Linked DNA regions of Homo sapiens: all the other regions are linked to region 2. The links are contacts of gene promoters, found by promoter capture Hi-C in human tissues and cell types (Jung and others, 2019). All regions are on one chromosome and are shown on one strand. The core of a region is centred on a gene start or on the middle of the fragment in contact, and the rest is flanking DNA. Distances in the headings are between cores, read along the strand shown. Region 1 overlaps CTNNA3 (catenin alpha 3). Region 2 holds the start of LRRTM3 (leucine rich repeat transmembrane neuronal 3). Region 3 overlaps CTNNA3 (catenin alpha 3). Region 4 overlaps CTNNA3 (catenin alpha 3).

The links. Contacts are between HindIII fragments. The study calls those that stand out against the background at their distance.
Region 1: a contact is called between a fragment that was not itself captured here and the fragment with the promoter of LRRTM3 in region 2, in 2 of the 25 tissues and cell types used here (heart left ventricle and mesendoderm cells).
Region 3: a fragment that was not itself captured here is called in contact with the fragment with the promoter of LRRTM3 in region 2 in 2 of the 25 tissues and cell types used here (H1 embryonic stem cells and heart left ventricle).
Region 4: a contact is called between a fragment that was not itself captured here and the fragment with the promoter of LRRTM3 in region 2, in 1 of the 25 tissues and cell types used here (hippocampus).

The regions. Positions count from the first base shown.
Region 1 is chr10:66,620,720-66,623,419 of GRCh38, reverse strand. It overlaps CTNNA3 (catenin alpha 3), which reads left to right. Exons shown (of 18, transcript NM_013266.4): 10 at 1,636-1,728. Among named protein-coding and RNA genes, the nearest start is that of LRRTM3, 300 kb to the left of the region's middle. The HindIII fragment of the contact is 3,367 bases long and covers 1-2,700 here.
Region 2 is chr10:66,924,640-66,927,339 of GRCh38, reverse strand. LRRTM3 (leucine rich repeat transmembrane neuronal 3) reads right to left here and starts at 1,304. Exons shown (of 3, transcript NM_178011.5): 1 at 753-1,304; 2 at 1-419. The coding sequence starts at 756. The region is part of intron 7 of CTNNA3 (catenin alpha 3); the gene reads left to right. All of the region lies in intron 3 of LOC101928961 (a long non-coding RNA gene), which reads left to right. RefSeq lists a silencer at 1,332-1,441 and an enhancer at 1,061-1,917. The HindIII fragment of the contact is 13,899 bases long and covers 1-2,700 here.
Region 3 is chr10:66,510,166-66,512,865 of GRCh38, reverse strand. All of the region lies in intron 11 of CTNNA3 (catenin alpha 3), which reads left to right. Among named protein-coding and RNA genes, the nearest start is that of LRRTM3, 410 kb to the left of the region's middle. The HindIII fragment of the contact is 5,099 bases long and covers 1-2,700 here.
Region 4 is chr10:66,579,687-66,582,386 of GRCh38, reverse strand. The region is part of intron 10 of CTNNA3 (catenin alpha 3); the gene reads left to right. Among named protein-coding and RNA genes, the nearest start is that of LRRTM3, 340 kb to the left of the region's middle. The HindIII fragment of the contact is 4,956 bases long and covers 1-2,700 here.

The DNA.
Region 1 (2,700 bases), core at 146-2,645, 300 kb after region 2:
AGGAAAAAGAAGAAAATGAGGATACAGTAAATATAAGTAAGTAAAATAAAAAAGTATCTACATAGGGCCAGTTTTTTATAATTTCTAAGCTTTGGGTTAACCAGCATTCTTCTAATTTGACCACATTGAGCCAATGATTTTTATTTTTATTTTTATTTTTTTACTTTAAACAAACAGTGCTCAATTTTACAGGTCAGTATTTTTTGCAAATGCAGTGTGAATTAATATAATACAAATTAAAGCAATTAGACTGTCAAGTTTCACTTTTAGTGATTGGGGTTTGGGGAGTGGAAAGGGGCACAGAAACTGTTGCCCTTTTCAAACAACTCACAAATGTGCTAATTATGTGTCAGAAATTATGAAAGTTGAGGCATTGTGACCTTCAAGCCAACAAAAGACCTTTTCAAGTAAGCCATCCCCATGTACATTAATAAAGTGAGCAATGCCCTTCCACAGTTAAATAATGTATGGCTGTTATTTCATTATATGTGAATGAAAACCGAGGAGTTATTTCACTATTGGCATATTAAAAGAAATGTTATAAAAAAGCAAAGACTGTAAATCCATTTAAATAACATTTTGTGGTACTTTTAAAATAGTGATCCAAAGTCATATGTTGTTTATTTCCACTGCATGTGGCTAATGCGTAGTTTCTCCGCAACTGGATGTATTTTAGATCTTAGCAGGAAAAACTGCAATGCGTTAAAGTATAAAACAACTGACAGAGATATTTTAAAAGTTAGAAAAATTACTGTTAGATAAAGTAAATCCTTGCAATGATAAAGACAATGAGATATTTTGTAGATCAGAGAAAACATTGCCTCTGTCCATAAGCCTTACTGTGTTAGTAAGAAGAATCTTGAACAAGAGTGGGGTGCAGAGGAAGGGAAAATAACCTCTCACTCTTCATCATGGCTCTTTCATGGTCTGAAGAAAGTATTTGTAAACCTTGGATTTAGGTCATGGACATAATGGTAATTAAAACAGCACTCATTTTGTTGGAAGAAAATGTAAATTTCAAAAGCAATAATATAAGAGAAATTTGGGTGTCACTAATGCTTGAATCAAATGCACTGCAGGAATGTCAAACAGTGCCCATGAAGTTGTAGTGGAAAATCAAGAGCAGGAAGAAGTTAATTATCTTGTATTTGTTCAGCTTTGTAGTATATTTGATGCAAACAAAATGTATAAAGATACAGTCATACTTAATGCAACTTAAATATGAGTAATAGACCTCTGGGAAATAATAAACCAATTACAAATTTAAAATAAATCACAATCATATGAGATTCCAAAAACCTATTAGCATTCAATCCACAGATAAACTTTTGTTTTTCCAGTCTCACAATAGCTTCTTATTATGGGTTAGATGTTGATACCAAGAGACTGTATAGGGTTTACTGATTCTCTCACTAGTCTCTCCTCATTTTAAACAATTATCTAGGTCCTTTTATTGTTATTTGCTTTAATAGATTCTCTGAATTCTTTCATAAAATAGATACCAGTGATGATTTTGAGAATGTTATTTGTCATTGAGATTCTTGATGAATGTGTACATGTTCTTGTTCAGTATAAGTGTTGCTGCATTTCCTTGCTAATCTAAAATAATTTCCATTATTTTGGATTGTATTTAAGGTGGCAAATCTTGCTTGTTCCATGTCAACAAATGAAGATGGAATTAAAATTGTCAAAATTGCAGCCAATCATTTGGAAACCTTGTGTCCACAGGTATGACAACTAAGTTACTTTTTGTGTGTAAAATTATATATAATTCCTAATGCTTTTATGCATATGAAAATACACTATTTTTTTTTCTTTTTTTTTTTTTGAGACCAGGTCTCGCTCTGTTGCCCAGGCTGGAATGCAGTGGCGCAATCTCGACTGACTGCAACTTCTGCTTCCTGAGTAGCTGGGATTACAGGCATGCGCCACCATGCCTGGCTAATTTCTGTATTTTTAATAGAGATGGGGTTTCACCATGTTGGCCAGGCTGGTCTCGAACTCCTGACCTCAAGTGATCTGCCCACCTCGGCCTCCCAAACTGTTGGGATTACAGGCGTGAGCCACCGTGCCCAGCCAAAATGTTTATTTGAAGCATGGAAGACAGAATTGTCCTAAGGCGATTCTTAAAAAGAGAGTAGAGAAAAAGACTGACATTCTTTAAGTGGCCATATTGGAATCTCCTGAGGCAAAGGTGCTTTGTCCAAATGATTTGATTTATTTTTAGTAATTATTTATTTTGAAATTTCAAATCAGCTGAAAGAATTGACTCTTTTTTTCTTTTATCAAAGAAGGTATCGGTTTGAAAAAAGTTAAGAAATATTTTCTTGTCGGTAATTCAGATGTTTCTTAAAATCTGAAGAGTGACACACTTTTAGGGAATTATTTCTACATGACAAATGGTTTTGAAGCCATGAATCAAGATACACATAGAGAAATTTTAAACACTCTTATCTGAGAAGAAGCAGGATATAATACGGATACTTCCTAATAAAGACCACAAATGTTATAAGGATGAGAAAAATAACAAAGATTAGGGACTTTAAGTCTCTGGACGTCTCCTGAGATTCTCAGTCTACAAAAAGTAGGGCATGTGTTAAATTATTGATTTGCCTTGCTGACAATTTCATCTCTAAGAATATTAAGGAAACTGTGAAGGAAACTGCTTCTTTGGACTTAATGTTGATTAACAAGTAAGAA
Region 2 (2,700 bases), core at 55-2,554:
GGACAGATCCAAGTTCCGTAAATTTGTCACAGGTCTGAAGGTATTGTTAAGAAAATAGGAGATTCTATTGGAACTAAGAATCAGCTCTTTGAGTCTGCGTATTCCATTAAAAGCATTTTCGTCAATATTGCTGATATGGTTATGGTCAAGGTATAGCCAGGTGAGCTGGTTGAGCCCTTTAAATTGATTATACTTAAGTTTTTGAAGGCTGTTATAGCGAAGGGACAAACCTAAGCAACCAGCAGATATACTTGAGGGTATCTCCTGTAATTTCTGAGATTCACAATATACCATTTTGCCTTCACACCTACAGCCCTTAGGGCATCCTCGTTCGGCAGAAGAAAGCATTGTCAGTAAGACAGTGGGGGCTATAACCAGTGCTACAGCTGATCCGCTCAGTAGCCTAATTACATTGAAACCTGGAAATAAAAACAACTTAGAAAAGTTATCCCCCCAAAAAAGAATTAATCCTTAATCAAGCAAAAATAGGCATATATTTTTCATTTTTAAAAATTTAAATCTAAATAACACTTAACATCACATATTATCTCTTTGTAATTAAAGAGAATTGTCTTTAGTGTTTTGTTTTTTTAAATAGTTAAACAAGGAAACATGCCACTAAGCAAATAAATTCATAGTCTTAGAGCAGAGCAAGGTAATCTCTAAAATAATTAAGGCAGAATTATTACACACACTAGAGGTTTTTTGTTTTTTGTTTTTAAGAAGGAAAGAAGAAAAATGACAAAACATACCCATCCTTTGTATTGTTCAAAGGTCGTCCTTAGGTCTTTTGCTTTGGCTTAGGGGCCAGTTGCATGACAGCCCCTGTCAGCTGCACTGTAGTGAGTCAGGGCTCGCTGACACCCAGGAAGAAAAATTGGACCCCTTGGGAGATGGACCGATTTTGGAACATTATTCTTTGCCAGCCACGCAGAACACTCCAAGAACAAATAAATCCCAACACCGCATTCGCAGCAAAACATCAAAATCTTCCTAGGTAATAGGATCTTCATGGATATTACGTTTTTGCATCTTTACAGTTTTTTGGGGGGTGGGGAGGGGGCGGTTAAAAAAAAAACTGGATCCTACAATTTCTTCTTATCGAAAAACATGATGTATTCTTCCAGGCAATTTGGGGCTACCTGAGCTGCCACATCTGTATTCCATACCCCAGCAGTTCCCGTGATGAGCACCCAGTTCAGCCACAGAGCTGCGTTGGAGCCCAGAAGGCAGGAGAGCCCCGTACCGCGCACACGCTCAGCTCACTTCTGCAGACTGTCATTCTGAAAGCTGCTCGGACTGTTGCTTTGGTTTCAGTGAATGCAGTCTTATGTAAAGCTGCCCCCAGTGGTGAAGAACATTATGGGCATGTGCAGAAATGTCTCTCTTTTATCTTGCAAATGAGCAGGCTCTCTGCTGGAAAATGAATGATTCTTTTGGGTGGCTCAGTAGGAACTGAATGGTCACCGTGATCAATAACTAGCAACATTTTCTGTGATTTCCAAGTCTTGTTTTACAATTTGGCAACGTCTTTATTGTCTGTGTCCACTTAATTGCTAAACATGTGCTGCCCAGAGTTTTTCTGGAGCTTGACATTAAGTTCACAGACCGAACGTCAATTTTTCTTAACCTCAACGCAGGCTTTAAACTGAAATTTATAAAATGAATTATTGAGCTTTTCACAGAGAAGCATTAACTGCCTGCCCATTTGACCTCTTGGAGTCACAGTGATTATATTATGCAAGGTGTCTCAGGATGTTAGAACACAAACATTTTGGAATAGAGGGGATGACTGATGACAAGTGAATTAATGTGTCCAATAGCCTTTCCGGTTTTCTCACAGACGATATAATTGATTTTATGGCTATAGTTTCGTTTGTTGTTTTGGTTGTTGTAATTCTCTTTTAATTAGAAGGGAAATAAACCATTTTTAGTGTTAGGATACGAATCAAGAGATCATTTGGTTCATACTTTATTGATGTTGCTGCTATTTATTACACTAATAATATTTATGGAGCACTTTCTAAGTGCTTTAAATGGGCTACGTTGTTTTCTCTTTAAACAATAGTATGATGTGGGTCCTATTATAACCTCTCTTTTAAAGATGAGGAAACAGACTTGGGGAGGTAACTTTCTCAAGGTCATACAGCAAGCGAGTGCTAGAGCTGAGCTTCAGAAGCGAGTCATTCTTATGCCGAACCACTAACCACTAGATGATCCTGTTCAACAACATTGTTATCTTCATTTAAAAAAGAAGTCAGTGAAAATGAAGCCGATTAAAGGATTGGGGCAAGGAAGCTGTGATTAGCAAATTCTTGCTTGTTCTATTAGAATTGCCTAAATTTCTTTTGGTCTGAGGTTCCTAAAGAAGTATAAAAACTAAGGCAGCGTAGTTTAGTGATTAACAGCATAGATTTTGGCACCTAGATTCCAACTCCTGGCTACAATTTACCAGCTATGTAACCTTAAGCGCGTTACTTACCTTCCCTATGCCTCAGTTTTCTCATCTGCAAAACGGGCATAAAAACAAAAACTCACTTCATGTTTTGAGAATTAAGTCATTTTAATATCTGTATGTTACTTAGAACAGTGTGTTGCATGCAATAAGCCTGTGTAAGATATTTGAATAATATTAACTTTATTTGTACTTGCTAGGATTACGTACTGAATATTGACTATACTGACCTTCATTAACTCACA
Region 3 (2,700 bases), core at 73-2,572, 410 kb after region 2:
TCTCAGAAGAAACTTACAAGCTAGGAGAGGATAGGATGATATATTCAGATTGCTGGAATAAAAAAAAGAAAAAACTTTCAACTAAGAATACTATAAACCATAAAGCTATTCTTTAGAAATGAAGGAGACATAAAATTTTCCCAGACATACAAAGACTGAGGGAATTAATCACTGTTAAACTGAACCTACAAGAAATGCTTAAGGGACTCCAACCTCTGAAAGCGAAAGGATGTTATCTATCAATTAAGCAAAAGCAGATATGTGTCTATATCATTGGTAGATGTTACCTATCAATTAAGGAAAAACATGAAAGTATACAATTCACTGGTAAAGCAGATATGCAAATGAGAAAAAGAAAGGAATAAAATTTTATCACTACAGAAAACCACCAAACCACAAAAATAATAAAAGAAGAAAGGAACTAAGGCTATACAGAGCAATTACAAAACAACTAACAAAATGACAAGAATAAATCCTCATCTTATCAATAACAACCTTAAATGTAAACCGTTTAAATTCCCTAATTGAAATATATAAACTGGCTGAATTAAAAAACTGAGACCCAACTATTTGCTGCTTGTGAAACTCACTTCTCATTTAAAAACACACATAGACTATAACAGAACAGATTAAACAAGATATTTGCTGCAAATGCAAACAAAAAGTGTGCAAAAGTAGCAAACTTATATCAGACAAAATAGACTTTTATTAAAAATAAAAAGATAAAAAGACACAGAGGTCATTATATAGTGATTAAAAAATCAATTCAGCAAGAGGAAAGAACAATTGTTAATATATATCCACCGAACACCAGAGCACTCAGATATATAGGGCAAATATTATTATAGTTAAAGAGAGAGATAGAGACACCAATGTAATAATAGTTGAGAACTTTAACACCTCACCCTCCTCACCCTCAGCATTGCACAGCTAATCTATACAGAAAGTCAACAAAGAAACATTGTACTTAAGCTTCATTTTATACCAAATGAACCTAATAGACATTTACAGAACATTTTTTCCAATGGCTACAAAATGTACATTCTTCTCATCAGCAGATGGAACATTCTCTAGGGTAGACCCTATGTTAGGCCCAAAACAACTCTAAATAATTTTTTCAAAAATGCAATTATACCATGTATTCTCAGGTTTCAGTGGATTATAATTAGAAATCAATAACAAGAGGAACACTGGAAACTGTAAAAATACATAAAAATTAAACAACATTCTCCTGAATGACAAATGAGTTAATGAAGAAATTAAGAAGGAAATTTTAAATACTTCTTGAAAGAAATGAAAACAGAAACAAGACATACCAAAAAACCTATGGAACACAGAAAAAATAGTACAAGAGGGAAGTTTAAAGGAATAAGCACCTATATAAAAAAAAAAAGATTTCAAATAACCTAGTGATACACCTCAAAAAATAGAAAAGCAAGAACACGCCAAACCCAAAGTTAATAGAGGAAAATAAATAATAAAGATCAGCACAGAATGAAACAAATTAGAGGCAAAAAAGCAAACAAAAGATTCATGAAAAAAGTTAGTTTTTGAAAAGTAAACCAAATCAACAAACTATTATATAGATTAAGAAAAAGACCTAAATAAATAATATCAGAAATGAACAATGAGATATTACAACTGACACCACAAAAATACAGAGGATCATTAGAGACTGTTAGGAACAACTATACACCAACAAATTAAAAAACATAAAGGAAATGGATACATTCCTAGACACAAGTATAAAATACCAAGATTGAACCAAAAATGAACAGAATCAAACAGACCAATAACAAATAAGAAGATTAAATCAGTAACAAAAAGTCTCTCAAAAAAGAAAAGTCCAAGACCAGATGGATTCACTAATGAATTCTAGCAAACTTTTAAATAACTAACACCATTTTTTCTCAAACTATTCCAAAAAATTGAGGATTAAGAAATTCTTCCTAATTAATTCTGTGAAGCTAGCATTACCCTGATAATAAAACCAGACAAGGGCACAACAAAAAAAGAAAACTATGGGCCAATATGTCTGATGAAGATAGATTTAAACACCCTCAACCAAATACTAGAAAATAGAACCCAACAGCACGTCAAAAACATAATGAACCTAATCAAGTAGAATTTATTCCAAGGATACAAGGATAGTTCAATATATGCAAATCAATAAATGTAATGCATCACATTAACAATATAAAATTTTAAAAACATATTATCTCAATAGACAGAAAAATCTTTTAATAAAATTCATCATCCCTTTATGATAAAAAATTCTTAACAAATTAGGCATAGAGGGAATATACCTCAACACAATAAAGACCATATATGACAAACCCATGGCTAACATTATACTGAATGAAGAAATACTGGAAGCTTTTTCTCTAAGAACTGGAAGAAGACAAGGATGCTCACTTTCACTACTCTTATTCAACATAGTACTAGAAGTCCTAGCACATAACAATTAGGAAAAAGAAAGTAAGAAATTGCCATCCACATTGGAAAAGAGGAAGTCAAATTGTCCCTCTTTGCAAACAACATGTTCTCATAAATAGAAAAATGTAATGACTCTGCCAAAATACTCTTAAAACTGGCAAATGAATTCATTAAAATTTCAGGATAAAAAAAATCAACATACAAAAATAATTAGTATTTTATATACCAGTAATGAACTAGGTGAAAAAGAATTTAAAAATGCAA
Region 4 (2,700 bases), core at 51-2,550, 340 kb after region 2:
AAAATATGCTAGAACATACTTAACCAAGGAGGTGTAGTATCTCTACAAGAAAAATAAAACACGGCTGAAAGAAATTGTAGATGACAAAAGCAAATGGAAATACATTCTTTGCTCATGGGTTAGAACAATCAATATCATGAAAATGACCATACACTCCAAAGCAATCTACAGATTCAATGCAATTTCTATCAAATTACCAACACTATTTTTTACAGAATTAGAAAAATCAATCCTAAAATTCACATGGAACCAAAAAATAGCCCAAATAGTCAAAGCAACCTAAACGAAAAGAACAAATCTGGAGGCATCACATTACCTAACTTGAAATTTTACTACAAGGCTAACGTAACCAAATCAGCATGGTACTGGTATAAAAGTAGATCAATGGAATATAATAGAGATCTCAGAAATAAAGCCAAATACTTAAAACCAACTGATCTTTGATAAAACATACAAAAACATAAATCGGGGAAAGGACATTCTGTTCAATAAAGGGTGCTAGAAAAATTGCATAGTCACATGTAGAAGAAAGACAGTGGATCTCTGTCTCTCACTAGATACAAAAATTAACTTTACCTTGACTAAAGACCTAAAGACCTGAAGCTAAGACCTGAAACCATAAAAGATCTAGAAGAGTACCTAGGAAAAACTCTTCTGGACACCAGCATAGGCAAATAATTTATAACTAAGACCCCTAAAAGCAAATCCAACAAAACAAAAATAATGAATAGGACTCAAACTAAAAAGCTTCTTCACAGCAAAATAAATAATCATTACAGTAAACAGACAACTTAAAAACTGAAATGTGGACAAAAGACATGAATAGATATTTCTCAAAAAATATACAAATGGTCAAAAACATATGAATAAATGCTCAACATCACTAATTGTCAAGGAAATGCAAATTAAAACCACAATGTATACCACCTTACCCGAGCCAGAATAACCATTATTAAAAAGTCAAAAAAAAAAATCCCCAAAAGATGCTCGGGTGGACGTGGTGAAAGAGGAACACTTATATGCTGCTGGTGGAAATACACATTAGTACAACCTCTATGGAAAAGAGTATGGAGATTTCTCAAAGCTAAAAGTAGATCTACCATTTGATCCAGGAATCTCACTACTGGGTATCTACCCAAAAGAAAAGGAATGAATATATCAAAGAGATGCCTGTGTGCATATGTTTATTGCAGCACAATTCACAATTGCAAAGATATGCAGTCAACCTAAATGTCCATTAACTGATGAGTGGATAAAGAAAATGTGATGTATGTTATCATGGAATACTACTCAGCCATAAAAAGAATGGAATAATGTATTTTGTGGCAACTTGGTTGGAACTAGAGGCCATTATTCTAAGTGAAGTAACTCAGGAATTGAAAACGAGATACTGAAGGTTCTCTCTTATAAGTGGGAGCTAAGCTATGGGTATGCAAAGGCATACCAAGTGGTATAATAGACATCGAAGACTTAAAAGGGGTGAGGGGGTAAAAATGAAAAACTACCTATTGAGTACAATATGCACTATTCAGATAATGCATGCACTAATATCCTAGACTTCACCATTATACAATTCATCCATGTAACTGAGAACCACTTTTACCCCTAAAGATTACCCTCACCAGGCAGTAATGAGGCAACCCTCTTCTTCCTCTGCCAAAGCAGTTTCAGAAGAAGCCAACTAAAGCAGAAATGTGATCCAGAATTTTAAATATGATCCATAGTCTTTTAACATAATAACCAAAATGTCTCCATCTCATTCAAACATCACTTGTCATATCAAGAACCAGGAAGATCTCAAGCTGAATAAAAAAATACATTTAATAGATGACAGCGATGTTAGAATTATCTTACAAAGATTTCAAAGTAGCCATCATAAAAATGAATGAACAATCATAAACATCCTTGAACAAATGAAAAAATATCACCTATTTCAAAATTGGTTGAAGAGAAGATTTGGAATGTTCCCAACACAAAGAAATGATAAATGTTTGAGATAATCGATATTCAAATTACCTAGATTTTATTATACATTGTATGCTCATATCAAGATAGCACATGTACCCCATTAATATGTACAATTATGTAGCCATAAAAATTAAAAATAAAAATAAGCAAAGGGGAAGAATGTCACCAAAGGAGAATAAAAAAATAGAATGTTACAGCAAAGAAATCAAAGAAGAATGAAATAGAAATGTTAGAACTAAAAATATTAACCAATAAAATAATAATTTAAAAAGTCAACATATGGGCTCAATAGCTGAACAGAGGAGACAGAGAAAAGAACCAGTCCATTGAAAAATAATACAAATAGAAATTACACAATGTAAACAACAGGGACAAAATAGACTTTAAAGAAAACAAAAACAAAACACAACCTCAGAAATGTATGGGACTATAATGCAAACCCCAAACATGATAAGCCCAAAGAAATCCACATGAAATCACACCATAGACAAACTTCTGAAAATTAAAGACAAATGTTTAAAGCAGTCAGAAATAAATATCACATTCTCTGTGGAAAAAAGAACGTTCAGATGACACTGGATCTCTCATCGGAAACCAGGGAAGCCAGCAAAAATTACAATAGTTTTGAAGTGCTGAAAGAAAAAATTTTGTCAACTCAGGATCCTATATCCAGTAATAAATACTCTTCAGAAATAAAGGAGAAATCAAGAAATTCTCGGAGATGAAGGAACA